5 separate regions of the Homo sapiens genome follow, and regions 1, 3, 4 and 5 are each linked to region 2. The links are contacts of gene promoters, found by promoter capture Hi-C in human tissues and cell types (Jung and others, 2019). All regions are on one chromosome and are shown on one strand. Each heading gives the region's core, a stretch centred on a gene start or on the middle of the fragment in contact. The rest is flanking DNA. Distances are from core to core; before and after follow the strand shown. Region 1 overlaps SLBP (stem-loop histone mRNA binding protein). Region 2 holds the start of MAEA (macrophage erythroblast attacher, E3 ubiquitin ligase). Region 3 overlaps GAK (cyclin G associated kinase). Region 4 holds the start of TMEM129 (transmembrane protein 129, E3 ubiquitin ligase). Region 5 holds the start of LOC124900163 (chloride intracellular channel protein 6-like).

What was found. Contacts are between HindIII fragments. The study calls those that stand out against the background at their distance.
Region 1: a fragment that was not itself captured here is called in contact with the fragment with the promoter of MAEA in region 2 in 3 of the 25 tissues and cell types used here (dorsolateral prefrontal cortex, hippocampus and mesendoderm cells).
Region 3: a contact is called between a fragment that was not itself captured here and the fragment with the promoter of MAEA in region 2, in 2 of the 25 tissues and cell types used here (IMR-90 fibroblasts and lymphoblastoid cells).
Region 4: a contact is called between the fragment with the promoter of TMEM129 here and the fragment with the promoter of MAEA in region 2, in 1 of the 25 tissues and cell types used here (dorsolateral prefrontal cortex).
Region 5: a contact is called between a fragment that was not itself captured here and the fragment with the promoter of MAEA in region 2, in 2 of the 25 tissues and cell types used here (dorsolateral prefrontal cortex and mesendoderm cells).

The regions. Positions count from the first base shown.
Region 1 is chr4:1,697,473-1,700,172 of GRCh38, reverse strand. SLBP (stem-loop histone mRNA binding protein) reads left to right here. Exons shown (of 8, transcript NM_006527.4): 4 at 103-162; 5 at 472-609. Among named protein-coding and RNA genes, the nearest start is that of SLBP, 13 kb to the left of the region's middle. The HindIII fragment of the contact is 4,940 bases long and covers 1-2,700 here.
Region 2 is chr4:1,288,525-1,291,224 of GRCh38, reverse strand. It overlaps MAEA (macrophage erythroblast attacher, E3 ubiquitin ligase), which reads right to left and starts at 1,334. Exons shown (of 9, transcript NM_001017405.3): 1 at 1,243-1,334. The coding sequence starts at 1,311. It overlaps LOC105374347 (a long non-coding RNA gene), which reads left to right and starts at 1,654. Exons shown (of 3, transcript XR_925046.3): 1 at 1,654-2,340. RefSeq lists silencers at 1,024-1,303, 1,404-1,813. The HindIII fragment of the contact is 22,633 bases long and covers 1-2,700 here.
Region 3 is chr4:910,833-913,532 of GRCh38, reverse strand. GAK (cyclin G associated kinase) reads left to right here. Exons shown (of 28, transcript NM_005255.4): 3 at 739-798; 4 at 1,746-1,860. Among named protein-coding and RNA genes, the nearest start is that of GAK, 20 kb to the left of the region's middle. RefSeq lists enhancers at 1-738, 739-1,644 and a silencer at 830-988. The HindIII fragment of the contact is 5,304 bases long and covers 1-2,700 here.
Region 4 is chr4:1,719,915-1,722,614 of GRCh38, reverse strand. It overlaps TMEM129 (transmembrane protein 129, E3 ubiquitin ligase), which reads left to right and starts at 1,292. Exons shown (of 4, transcript NM_001127266.2): 1 at 1,292-1,982. The coding sequence starts at 1,778. TACC3 (transforming acidic coiled-coil containing protein 3) reads right to left here and starts at 1,094. Exons shown (of 16, transcript NM_006342.3): 1 at 972-1,094. RefSeq lists enhancers at 264-1,259, 2,342-2,441 and silencers at 882-1,691, 1,702-1,751. The HindIII fragment of the contact is 14,879 bases long and covers 1-2,700 here.
Region 5 is chr4:781,026-783,725 of GRCh38, reverse strand. LOC124900163 (chloride intracellular channel protein 6-like) reads left to right here and starts at 1,878. Exons shown (of 2, transcript XM_047416474.1): 1 at 1,878-1,954. PCGF3-AS1 (PCGF3 antisense RNA 1) reads left to right here and starts at 1,877. Exons shown (of 3, transcript NR_171661.1): 1 at 1,877-1,954. RefSeq lists enhancers at 610-1,327, 1,328-2,044, 2,045-2,700 and silencers at 1,589-1,938, 2,039-2,118. The HindIII fragment of the contact is 6,790 bases long and covers 1-2,700 here.

The DNA of each region.
Region 1 (2,700 bases), core at 67-2,566, 410 kb before region 2:
ATAGGATGGTGTGCCTGCGGGCATCAGGGTGGAGCTTCCTCAGACCTGGCTGCTTTATTTTTATATCTTTTTTAAAAACAGCAATATTTATTTTGCCCTCAGATATAAAAGGAAACTCCTCATCAATGACTTTGGAAGAGAGAGAAAATCATCATCAGGAAGGTAAAGGCTGTGTAAATGTTTCTTTTCTAATTTGATAGACCTGTAATTTGTTAAAAAAAAAAAATTGTGACTGTCAGAAATGCTGACTGTCGCAGTAGCATTTATTAATACCTTTTTCACTAATTTGAAATACTGTATCTGTTGTGTACTAAATTCCCATACATGCAGTCTCCGGACTATTTAGGATTCATATGGTTGGGAATCTGGAGTGAATCTTCCATTATTGTGTTTTGACATTTTCTTGGCTTACCTTACATACATGGTGATCTTAATTGCAGGGCTTATTCTGTTAATCTGTTGTTTTTTCAGTTCTGATTCAAAGGAGTCTATGTCTACTGTGCCGGCTGACTTTGAGACAGATGAAAGTGTCCTAATGAGGAGACAGAAGCAGATCAACTATGGGAAGAACACAATTGCCTACGATCGTTATATTAAAGAAGTCCCAAGGTAGTCTTGTTTCAGTGGCATGTCTTGAACAAGCTGTGTGGCATTGCGTTTCTAAAGAGTTGCTTAGATTGGGTAGTACAAATGATGCTGGGGATAGTTCACACCTGCTAAGAGCTATTTAATAGGGACTTACTGGGGCTTATGACGTAAATAAAGAATGGATTGGCAACTGGAAAACTAAAGACATGAAGATTTTAAAAATCATTTTCATATAATTTTGAATGTTAGATAACATTTTATTTCTTAGGAGTCAGCAATCATAGATGTAAGCTTATTAAAATACATGATGGGGAAAAATGAAGTTCAAGTTAAATATTGTAAAATTCTAATTGGAGAAAAAAAAATTGGCATTGCCCTATTGTCTTTAAGCAGCATGTTCTTGCCTATCCTGGTCCCTCAAACACACAGACACAGAAGGATATAAAGAAAGCTTTAGTGTTTTCCTGAACTTTTTGGCAGGATTGGGGTTGAAATTTACATTTCTGGGCCAGGTGCAATGGCTCATGCTTGTAATTCCAGCACTTTGGGAGGCCGAGAGGACTGCTTGAGGCCAGGAGACTAGCCTGGGCAATATAAGGAGACCTCATCTCTACAAAAAATTTAAAAATTAGCCAGGTGTGGTGGTTTGCACCTGTAGTCCCAGCTACTTGGGAGACAGGTGGGAGAACTGCTTCAGCCCAGGAATTCAACGTTACAGTGAACCATTAATCACACCACTGCACTCCAGCCTGGGCTGCAGAGTATGAGACTTTGTCTCTTAAAAAAAAAAATTTTACTTTTGGCTGAGTGCAGTGGCTCATGCCTGTAATCCCAGCACTTTGGGAGGCCGAGGAGTGCGGATCATGAGGTCAGGAGATCGAGACCACCCTGGCTAACACGGTGGAACCCCGTCTCTACTAAAAATACAAGAAATTTGCTGGGCGTGGTGGCACACATTTGTAGTCCCAGCTACTCGGGAGGCTGAGGCAGGAGAATCACTTGAACCTGGGAGGAGGAGGTTGCAGTGAGCCGAGATTGCACCACTGCACTCCAGCCTGGGTCACAGAGCAAGACTCCATCTCAAAAAAAACAATTTTTTTTTTTTTTTTTTACTTTTTTGGAACATAGCTGGCAAAGGAATAGTAAGATTCAATGTGATGGTGCTTTTTTTTTTCCCTCCTGACCGAGTCTTGCTGTTACCTAGGCTGAAGTGCAGTGTTATATCATGTCTCACTGTGTATTCATTTTTTTGAGACGGAATCTTGCTCTGTTGCCCAGGCTGGAGTGCAGTGGCGCAATTTCAACTCCACCTCTCGGGTTCAAGCGATTCTCCTGCCTCAGCCTCCACAGGCGCCTGCCACCACACTTGGTTAATTTTCGTATTTTCAGTAGAGATGGGGTTTTACCATATTGGCCAGGCTGGTCTCGCACTGCTGATCTCGTGATCCGTCTGTCTCTGCCTCCCACAGTGCTGGGATTACAGGGGTGAGCCACCACGCCCAACCATCATGGCTCACTGTAGTCTTAACTCCTGGCCTCAAGCAATCCTCCTACCTCAACCTCCTGAGTAGCTGGGACCAGCGGTGCATGCCGCCACACCTGGCTAAACTTTTAAATTTTTATAGAGATGGGAGTCTCCCTATGTCGCCCAGGCTGGTCTTGAACTCCTGGCCTCAAGTAGTCCTCCCAAAGTACTGTGATTACAAGCGTGAGCCACTGTGCCCAGCGGATAGTGATTTTTTTGAGACCGAGTTTCACTCTAGTCCAGGCTGGAGTACAATGGTGCAATCTTGGCTCACCGCAACCTCCGCCTCCCAGGTTCAAGCGATTCTCCTGCCTCAGCCTCCCAAGTAGCTGGAATTACAGGCATGCGCCACCATGCCTGGGCTAATTTTTTTGTATTTTTAGTACAGATGGTGTTTCTCCATGTTGGTCAGGCTGGTCTCGAACTCCTGACTTTGGGTGATCTGCCTGCCTCGGCCTCCCAAAGTGCTGGGATTACAGGTGTGAGCCACCGCACCCGGCCCGGATAGTGCTTTTTAATTTTTTAATTTTTTTAAACATATTTGTTCATTTTGTAGGATCTCAGTTGATTTTTTATTTATTTATTTA
Region 2 (2,700 bases), core at 85-2,584:
CTGGAATCCAAAACCACCCTAGGCAACAGTGAAACCCCGTTTCTTTTTAAAAATATGAAATAAACCGCTAGTTAATAAAGAGGAGGAGAAGCTTGCTTCTGCTTTCCTATGAAGACCAGCTACAGCAGGGTACAGCCTGACTTCAGCAGCGCTAACTGTAGCAGGGACCTTTTAATGAATGCTAGGCACTGTTTGAAACAATACGTGGTCACTCATTTCACCCTGAGGTGACACAGGCGCTACCACTGCTTAAACCTGACAAGAATAAACAGTCACCAACCGGGCCCTGATGTCTCCCAGTAAGGACGAATACAGAGAAGCCTGATTCACACCCCAGCAGGATGGCTCACAGCCTGTGCTCTTCAGCCCTTCGCTGAACTGCCCTGGGGCTGGGGGAACGCACAGCAACCTGGCCATACTGCATCCTCCACACCTGTCGCCACACCGTCCGTCCTCAGACGGACGTGAACACCAGGGCGCTCTGGGAGGAGAGAGAAACTACGCAGCTCTCCAGGAAGGCAACACAGAACCACGAAGCTCAGCCGCAGCTCTAGGAAAGCTATGACCTTGATCTTTTAAGGAATTCCTTCCCAGGTGCTTCATATCAAATCCTCTACTAACTAGGTAAAGAACAAGTATCGGCTCCTTCTACTAGGAGCACAAATTTCATTCTAAGAAGTGCGACGTGGCTAGGTGACCACCCAAGGTCACGCAACCGGCAGCCGGACGGCAAGAGCTGTATTTCAGGTTTGGTGACGCCCATCAAAAAGGTCGCTGGGTGCCATCAGGCCGTGAGGTTTCTCCCTACAGTTCCTAACTAGCGACCGGCGCAGCCGGCACCTCCCAGCCCTGGGCTCCCGGGAGGGCGGCCGGGCACTGGCTGGGCACGCCGCGCACTCCGTCTGCCTGGGCGCCAGAGACCCCACGCCCCGCAAACTCCGGCTTCCACCCCAGCCCCAAATTCGCCACCCTTAGCGCTGCCAGAGTCGTCGCTGGCTCGGCTCACGCAGCTCTTCAAGCAGAGGGGCCACAGTCGGGCGCCTGGCAGGGCCAAAGCCGCCGCCCCCGCCACACCTGCCCGGCGCGGACCGGGCGCCCCTGAGAAGCCCGCACGGCCCCGCGAGGCCGCGCCCAGCTCCCGCCGCCCTCGCCGCTGGCCCTCCCGGGGCGGCCCCTCGCGGCCCGAGGGCACTGGCTGGAGACGCCTTCGCTGCCCTCAGCCTGCGCGGCGCAGGCGCCCACCTTGAGGGTCGGGTACTCCTGGACCTTCAGGGTCATGGACAACTGAGCCGCCGACTCCTGCACCGCCATCTTGAAGCGGCCAAAACATTAGCGGGCGGGGGACGCGCGAGCGCGCTGCACGCCGGGAAATGACGCCACGCGCCGGCCGGAGCAGGATGGGGGCGGGCCGATGCCCCTGCACCAATCGTATCCGCCCAGTCGGCCGGAGGCGGAAGAAGGCGCGAACCAATCACTGCCGGGTTTCCTCTCGTTCAGCCAATCAACGATAGCCCCGGCTGGCGGTTTCCACCTTGAATTCGCTACCGGGTTCAGGCCGCAGACGCCGGAGCTGGGGATGCTCCTGGCCCGGGGCGGGCCGATGGGGTGCGGGCTGCGGCCCGGGCGGGTGGAGCTGGGGCCGAGCGGGCTGGGGGACTTGGCGTCCGTCCAGTTACTTGGGGCTCCCGCGGGGTGGTCCCCTGTGGGTCCCTCGTGCCTGCGGTACCAAGGGCAACGCCAACAAAACGCCTGGCCGCATGCGCCTGTAGCCAGCTATTTTTCTTTGGCCTTATTTTGACCGATTTACAGCTGCTGGAATCCTGATGTGGAACCTCCGACTTCCCAACGGAAGAGGAAAGGCCCAGTACCTAAAACTGATTTATGGACAGAAACTCCCGAAGCATGAGAAGCGTGTGGCCTCTCCGCCCTCTCCTTGCAGGGCGGGCAGCGCTGGCATCCAGGTCGTGCGCTGCCTTCATTTCAGCCACTTCACATTCTCAGCCTTTCAAACACCACCCGTCTCCCTCCTTTCCAAAATAAAACTGAAATTAGATTTTATTAATTAGGAAATGACGTCCCAATTAAACCACCTTGTGTTTCACATAACACATTTCTAAACAACTTTTAAAATATTTGGTGTTTAAACAAAGGAAAAACATCTAAGGTGACACAGCGATGAAGGGAGAACCTCCGCTTGGAGGCTGCTACATGTTACAGCCGCAAGACATCCGACCCGCACTGTGGAATCTTTCTCTGTCTTACTTAAACAGGAGTTGGGACTAAGGAAAGTGTTATTCCTCAAGTGTGTGGCTGCAGACTCCAGTCTTTTAGACATTTGAAGTAAGTTTTACAGTGAGGTGCACAAATCTTAACTATACAGCTTTAATGAATTTTCACCCATATTTGCACTTTTATCTAACCGTGTCCTGGTTGAGATTTAGGACATTTCCCGTGGCACAGAAAGCTCCTCTGCCCCTTCCCGGGCTATATCCCCATCATTCTAACCCTGCTCCCCGTAACAGCGTTCCTGACCTTCCTATAGAGATGGAAGCATGCACTCTGTACTCTTTGCGTCCTTTCACGGTTCGCATCGTGTCTGCCACTCTCCGGGATGGTCCCAGTAGTACACAGGAGCACTGCAGCAGTTGGATGGACTGCACTCCTCTTAGAGACTGCCTTCACTTCACCAGGGATTCAAGA
Region 3 (2,700 bases), core at 71-2,570, 380 kb after region 2:
GATGCGTCCCTGTTACGTACTTTGTTTCCTTTTACAGCCTGGACATACTTGTCCCTTTTGCTTCTGCTGAATCTCAGCAGCCTTGGGCACTGCAGGAGCCTTGGTCTCCAGCTTTGGGCTTCACACTCCTGTGGCCCTGCCTGCCCTGTGGCAGGGGCTGTGCTGGGGGTGACCTCATGGTGGGGTCATGCCCTCTTGGCCTCCATGTGCCAAAATAAGGGCTCTATGAATACAAGGAGTTTAAAAGCTGCTTGTAAAAAATATTTGTTGCTAGCATTTCTGTAAATAGGGGTCACTGTGGGAGGGTCTGTACTGTGCAGTTTTGTCCTGAGACGTAAGAAGGCCCCATTTGCTGTCACCACGCTGGGCACCAGGGTGGCCCCGCCTTTGAGAGTGGGCATGAGTGGGCCTGTTGTCGTGGTCTGCACGCCTGCTGCCCCCGTGTCTGCAGAGCATTGCCGCTCTTCCTTCTTGTCTGTCTCATTTTACTCTGGCCCATTTGGGGAAAGGCTCCTGCTTTTGACTTTTCTTGTGTCCTTGCATCACAAAGATCTTTTGAGGGTCTTGAACCCCCAGCACGTTTTTACAGGGGTCAGAGGTGGAGACACACGAAACGGGGGGAGCTGTATTAGACACATTGCATTGCTCTGTTGCGTGCTTATGTCTGAGATGATGCATCGGGTGGAGTAGGAAGGTAAACTTGCTTTCATCTTTTGTGTGTGCTGTTTCCTGATACAGAGGCTATTATCCAATGAAGAGGAAAAGAACAGAGCCATCATTCAAGAAGTTTGCTTCATGGTATCCTTTTCCTGGAACCAGGAGCCAGCACGGTGGCTTTGGCAGGCACAGGCCTGCGTCAAGCTGTGACCGCCAGTGGCCAAGAGGCTGCTCCGTGACGTTGTCTTTCATGTGTTAAAATCGGCTTTTTGCTTTTACCAAACCTAGTTGTAGGCGACTTCTAGGAAGAAGCAGTTTTTTCTGTTTTTTTTTTACTGCCAGGGTAATAGTAGAAGATTCAGAAGTGTTGGGAATGAAGTTGTTCCTACCCAAGAGGTCTCCCTGCCCAGTGGATGGGCTGGTTACCACAGGGGGCCCTTGCCCGGCCCGGCCCCCTCAGCTCCTCCGGAGACCTGGCTGAGAGCCGTGCAGATGGCCTGGCTCCCACAGGCCCCGATGTGGCTTCTCAGCCGCCCCTCTCGTCCCTTCTCAGGCTGTCCCAGCATGACTGGGCGGGGCATCTCCCGGCGCTGACAGAGGATCTGGGGGCTGCACTCCCTGTCCACTGCCACATGTCCCTCCTGAGCCTGGAGTCTTCGGCCCTGGCTGCCCTCAGACTCTGCCTCTCTTTCCTCTCCTAGCTCTGTTCACTCGGAGAGCCCGCCGGCTGCCTGAGTGTGGGTTCGGGTGGACACAGCCACGCCGCAGCCTCCCTGCGCACAGCCCCCTGAGGGCCCTGCCTCCTCCTGCCACGCGCGGGATGGACTTTGGTGTCGCTGTGGTCAGGTGTGTGTGGCCGGTGTGCCTGCCTTTGTCCCCGCCCTCTCCTGCAGCTCCTCCTGCCTCTGTCTGCCTTTCTCTCGGTCGTCCACTGCTCTCTCCCTCATCTTCCGCTCTGACGTCTAAAATTGTAAGGGTTCGATTCAAGTATTCTGACTTCAGTGTGTTAATATTGTCTACATTTATTTTGAAGTGCACAGAACTGTGGACATGGTTATGTACGTTCTCCTTTAACAAGACAACTGCAGAAAAAGCTTTCCGGCCACCCGAACATTGTCCAGTTTTGTTCTGCAGCGTCTATAGGAAAAGAGGAGTCAGACACGGGGCAGGCTGAGTTCCTCTTGCTCACAGAGCTCTGTAAAGGTAACGTCCTGTGAAGGCCGGCTTGGTGCCATCTAACCCAGCAGAGGCCGGCTTGATGCCTCCTAACCCAGCTGCATGGCTGTGAAACATGCCCGGCATCTTCTCTCAAGCTGTGTTGGTCTTAGCGGGAAGCGCGGGCAGCTCTCTGACAGTAGTTCTGTGAGAGGCCCACGCTGACGCCCAGTGAGCTTCCCACTGTCCCGGTGGGCCACCTGCATCGTCTCCTCGTGGAGCTGCGGGCAGCCAGAGAGCCGGGCTCCCATCCTGCCTGTCTCCAGTGGCAGCACGGGGTAGAGCGTGGTGGCCTTCCGTGAGTGGTGTTTAGCAGGGGTGGAGGAGCGTCTGTCCTTCTCAGGGCTCTGGGGTCCCTGTGGGGTGGAGCGTGGTGGCCTTCCATGAGCGGTGTTGAGCAGGGTGGAGGAGTGCTGCTGTCCGTCCTTGTCAGGGGCTCTGGGGTCCTGGCAAGGAGAAGAGAGGCCGCAGAGGTGGACAACTCCAGGTCCCTCTGTGGGTGCCCAGCCTCATCAGGGTTGAGCCCAGGAAGATGGCACAACGACTCCATGGTCCGTTTGTCAGGACAGGAAGAGAGGCCGGTGGGTTGGGGTGGTGCTTTCGGAGAGTTCTAGGGGCAGAGTGGTCTGTGTGAGTGACTGCGGGGGATGTCGTGTTGGTGTCACCGGAGCCCACGCTGACTGGCCGGAGACCTGGCCTGACCCTGCTGAGCCTCAGGCTGTGTCTGCAAAGGGGAAACAAGACCTGTGCCTCAGAGGGCGGCTCCACCCCCAGCCCTGCCTCGTGCCGATGCCCTCCAGAACTCCTGTGCCAGGTGACGAGGGGAAG
Region 4 (2,700 bases), core at 43-2,542, 430 kb before region 2:
GCTTTGATTTGAAGAAGAGCAAAGTTGGGGAGGGTCCTGGAGAAGAGAGAGGGGGCAGCCCCGGCAGGTCGGTGCTGCAGCTTGAGAAGCCCACTGTGGTGCTGTGTGTGGGTGGGGAGGTTAAGAGCAGAAGGGAAGCAGGGAAACCACAGGCTTCTGGAGCCCAAGGAGTAGATGCCAGACCAGACCCGGGCCTGGCCACTGGCACATATGGGACTTACGGACGACGCTTAGGTTTTCGCCCTGAATAACTGGGTACAGGGCAGGGGAAGGGGTGCTGGATCGCTGGGGGACCCGCAAGCCTCGAACTCAGGGAGAAAGTGACTCGGAGGAAGCCTTCTGGCGGCCTGGAGGAGCTCGGGAGAGCAGCAGACCCAGCCTTAGTCAGGAGGGGCCTTTACTGACTATGGAGGCCCGGGAGGGGCTCTGGGCAGAGAAGGGACCGGCCCCAGGCTGGTGCTTTGGTGCTACTCTGGTGCACAAGAGGGATGCGGTGCGGGGGGAAGGTGGAGCGGCGCAGCAGGTGCGGGGAAGCGGTAGGGGCCCAGGTGTCCGCCGCAGGCGGCCTAGATGGAGTTGGCCCCAGGACGGAGGCCGGAAGGGACCAAAGAACAACAGGAGGGTCCGCGTGCTGGGAGCCAACAAAGAGCCAAGGTGGGCGACCGAGAGACAGGAGAGGGTCGAGGAGAGCAAAGCACCTCGGGGCGCCCGCTCCGCCGTCGGTCTTGGCCCAGCTCTAGCCGCCCCTGGCCACCATCCAGGGGGCCCAGCCCGGCGGTCGGTCTAGGGCCGGGTCCCATGACAGGGCGCGGTACAGGTTCTGGCGGCGGCCCCAGGAGGAGCCGTGGGGGACGCTTCCCGGGGAAAGCGGCGGCCGGGGCGGGAGGGCGAGGGCCGAGGGCGGGGCGGGGCGGGACGGCCTCGCGCCCCCAGGACCCCAGCCTCCCCGCGCCGTGTAGCCGCTCTCCTACCTGCCCGCCCGCCCGTTGCCGGGCTCTGAGCCCGCGCCGCCGCCGCCAGGAAGGAGGGGTCCGCGTCTGCTCCACGCCGGGGGCCAAGCCTAGCTGCTACCGCCGTCGCGCTTCTAGCCCTTGATGGCCGCCGGCGCGCCGGAGTTTCAAACGCCGACGGTTGCCTTCGCGCGGCCAATCAGCGCGCGGCCGGGGGCAGGACCGCAGGAGGGCGGGCGTCCAATGGGAAGCTGTGCCTCGCCGGCTCCGCCCTCCCTCCCCCCCCACCCCCCGCTCGGGCGCCGACGGTTCCGTTTCCGGAGTGGAGGGCACGCCAGGGTGTCTGAAGCTGAGACCCCGGGCTCGCAGTCGCCCCATGAATTTCGAGTTCCGCAACTGACGCTACTGGGCGGGGCTTCATGGCCAGGGCCTCGCTCAGGCCTAAGTTTCCCCACCTGTGCTCAATGCACAGGTGCGGTGCCGCCTCCAGGGCCGGCCGAGAAGAGAGGCCGCACCCGCACGGGGACTGCATCTCCCAGAGCGCCCCGCGAGCGGCCGAGCGGCGGGACTCCATGCCCTAGAGTGCCCCGCGGGCGGCCGGGCGGCGGGACTCCATGTCCTAGAGTGCCCCGCGGGCGGCCGGGCGGCGGGACTCCATGTCCTAGAGTGCCCCGCGGGCGGCCGGGCGGCGGGACTCCATGTCCTAGAGTGCCCCGCGGGCGGCCGGGCGGCGGCCGCCGCAACCGACAGGTCCGGGACTGGGCGCTGCGGCCTCGTCCGCGCGCCGGGGCGGGGGCCTAGCTCGACAGCTTCCCGGCGGCTGCGCGATGGACAGCCCCGAGGTGACCTTCACTCTCGCCTATCTGGTGTTCGCCGTGTGCTTCGTGTTCACGCCCAACGAGTTCCACGCGGCGGGGCTCACGGTGCAGAACCTGCTGTCGGGCTGGCTGGGCAGCGAGGACGCCGCCTTCGTGCCCTTCCACTTGCGCCGCACGGCCGCCACGCTGTTGTGCCACTCGCTGCTGCCGCTCGGTGAGGCTGCTCGGGCCGGCCGGCCGCATCCTCTCCTGCGCAGGGCTTGCTGGGAGGTCAGGAGGAGGCCTCCGCCAGCTCCCCGAGGCCCCGAAAGCGCCTGGGCGCAGCTGGGGAGAGGCGCCGGTCCTCATCCAGAGGGACCGCGGCGTGGGCTGAGCGCGCTTAGGGGCGCCGCCGGCACTGACTTGCAGGTGACGGGAACCCAAGTTCAGAACCTTGGGCAAGGGATGCTCCGGCCCACCAAGTCCTGAACCGTCACGTGCCTGGGGGTTGCAAGGCCAAGCAGCCCTTGCTTGTCGTGGTTGGGGGCAGTGGCCAGGAGAAGGCAACTGTTGATTGAGTCCAACGGAAGGGGTCGGAGGGGCTGTGTGGAGGGTGGCACTGCACTAGGCCTTGGAAGGTGGGTGTGGAGAGAACAGGCGGATTTGGAGGCAGTTCCAGTTTGGGGGCGCCACAGGGGCAGAGGCTGGGGAGGGCCTCTGTGCAGTGCAGGTGGGACGCTCAGAGTTGTCCAGGGGGGTGCTGGGCTGGGCCCCAGGTGCTAGCTGGGGCTCTGGAAGGTCCCTCTCTCAGCTGATTGGATGACGGACAGGTGGGAGGTGGGGTGTGCAGTGGCTGGAGGGGGATTTCAAGGGGGTACCTCTGGAGGACACGGGGGCAGACGCAGCCCTGGGAGGACAGATGGCCAGTGGCTGGCCAGGTTTGCCACTCTGGG
Region 5 (2,700 bases), core at 198-2,697, 510 kb after region 2:
TCAGATCTCCAGGATGAAGGTTTGTTGCTAAACTGACTTAGCCAGATTCTTTGCTAAAACTGCATTTTACAAGGAAGTGGGCCAATGGGCCTACCAGAAGATTCAGGAAGTTAACTAAAGTTTGACCACACAAAAAATCTTTGTCAGGAGCCCTCTCTAGGGAGCAGCATGTCTGGGTCTCCTGTAACCTTCCTGATGCTGCTGGCTGGGAATGCCCCAGGGAGCTGCCCAGTCCCAGGGCAGGAGGGCCCCATGTGCCCTGACCCCAGGCCGGGCCCTCCTGGATGCCAGGTGGGAGCTGGGAGGGAACGTGCTCTCCTCCAAGCCCAGGGAAGGGTGTATCCAGCTCCTCCTCCTGCTGCCTCTGGGGAAGTGTGCACCCCAGGCACCACCAAATTGCCCAGGGTGATCTCTCCTCTGCCAGCTGGCCCCCCTTCCTCCTGGAACAGAAACTCAGTGTCTTTGCACCCACCCCTGTGTCCGTGGCTGCTGCCAGCTGCCCCTCAACAGGGCACCCCAACATCCAGCCACTGCTCAGCCTCCATCCTCCCCCAGCCTCCCATTTCCCATCCACAGCCTGGTCTGGACCCCCTTGCAAGCCTAAGCAGCGACTTGGACGTGCCAGGTCACGACCCAGGCAGCTTTCCCTTGGAGTCTTTTTTTTTTGAGACAGAGTCTCTCTCTGTCCCCCAGGATGGAGTGCAGTGGTGCGATCTCGGCTCACTGCAAGCTCCGCTCCCAAGTTCACACCATTCTCCTGCCTCAGCCTCCCGAGTAGCTGGGACTACAGGCACCCGCCACCACGCCCGGCTAATTTTTTGTATTTTTAGTAGAGACGGGGTTTCACCGTGTTAGCCAGGATGGTCTGGATCTCCTGACCTGGTGATCCGCCCGCCTCGGCCTTCCGAAGTGCTGGGATTTCAGGCGTGAGCCACCGCACCCGGCTCCCTTGGAGTCTAGACGAGCCCTTCCTACAGCAATGAATGCTGGGTCAGACCTGAGCTTCTCCGGGATCCAGCTCTCATCTCAGGTGACGGGGTCTGAGGCCTCCTGGGAATGGCACTCCTCCCCAGATGTTTACTGAGCCCCTGTGATATGCGCTGCTCTGTTCTAGGGGCTGGGAATACTAGTCCCTCCCTCCTGGAACTGGTTTTCCTAGTGATGGAGGACAGATGATAAACATGGAAGTGGCGGTGTTTGCCCTGGAGGAAAATCAAGCAGGACAGGGAGCAGAGAGCAATGGTTAGGGTTACTATTTCATGAGTGGTCAGGGGGCCTCTCTGTCAGAGTGACGTGCACAGACCCGGAGGGAGGCGCGTGTCCCGTGGGAGAGCATTCTGGGCAGAGAACAGCCATTCGAGAGCCAGGAGGCAGCGCTGCCTGGGTGCCACCAGCGTGGCCCTGGCCCCATGCACTGGCTGGGCACCACCCTGCCCCCGGAGTCTCCTCCTTCTGAACGTTTGACTGTATCTTGAACACAGCGGGGCCGGCTTTCAAGCTCCAGACACGGCCTCCTCCCCAGGCCAGGAAGCCCTGTCAGGCAGCAGATCCGGCCCCCTCAGCAGATCGGCCCCTCCAGAAGACCCGCCCCTCACAGCAGATCCGGCCTTCCCAGCAGACCCGCCCCCCGAGTAGATCCGCCCCTCCAGGATATCCATCTCCCCAGCAGATCCGTCCTCTCCAGCAGAACCGCCCCCAGCGGAGCCGCTCGGGCGGGGCCTCCGGGCCTGGGGAAGGGAGCGGGGACCGGGCCGTGGAAGGACCGCGCCCGCCCCTGGCCAGCCTGAGCCAATCAGCGCATGCTAGGTGGGCCGACATGATTGGCTCCTAGAGGCTCACGTGTGGAGGCCTGACCAATCAGAGCCCGAGAGACGCCATTGCAAGCCTCTGCAGAGGCGCTGGAGCTGGGTCAGTCCGCCGCTCACCCCGCGGCCGCACCTTCCCGCCTTCTCAGGTAACTAAGTGCGGGTCTCGGGCCTGGCAGAAGCTTCTTCGGCCCCGTGCCCTCGCCTGGCCCCGCCCCGTCGGTTGTGTGCTTGTCTCGTCCTGCCCCCAGGCCCTGCCGGTCCCCACCGTTAGGCCGGCGTCCCTGCCCGGCCCCGCTGCGGGCTGGCGCCAGCTCAGGAGGACGCCCCGAAGCCGAGGCCTCGGAAGCAGGTTTTTCCCAGACCTTCTCCTGTCCCGCGTTCCCCCTAGGCCGGCCGTAGGGACCAGACCCCACCCTAAGCCCATAGCCGGCCTTCGCGCTCCGGGTGACCCTGGCTGGCCCTGTTTGTCTGTGGGTCCTGGGATGCGCCACTCCCGGCAGGAAGGGGCGCCGCCGAGGCCCGGTCTCAGCCTGGAACCCCGCTCCTGCCGTCGGGGCGCTTTCTGCGGCTGCCCACACACGACCCCAGGCAAGGGGTGGGGGCGCGGGACCCTCCATGACATGGCGGCGGGGCGCTCTCACTTCTTTGAAACCAGCGTAAACTGGACCCGCCCCACCTCCCATACCTTGGGGGAGCCCCGGGAAAGGCTGTGGCCTGGGGGTCTGCAGGGCGTTGGCAGTGGAGGTGGGGAGAGACCCCAGCCCTTTCCTGTCCCCCCCACCAGCCTTGCCTTCCTCGCCGTGAGCCGGGGACAGTGGAGGGGAGTCAGGGAGGGCCCACCAGATGGACTTTCTTGTGACTCATCCTATAAAGCCCCTCGGGCTTAGCCACC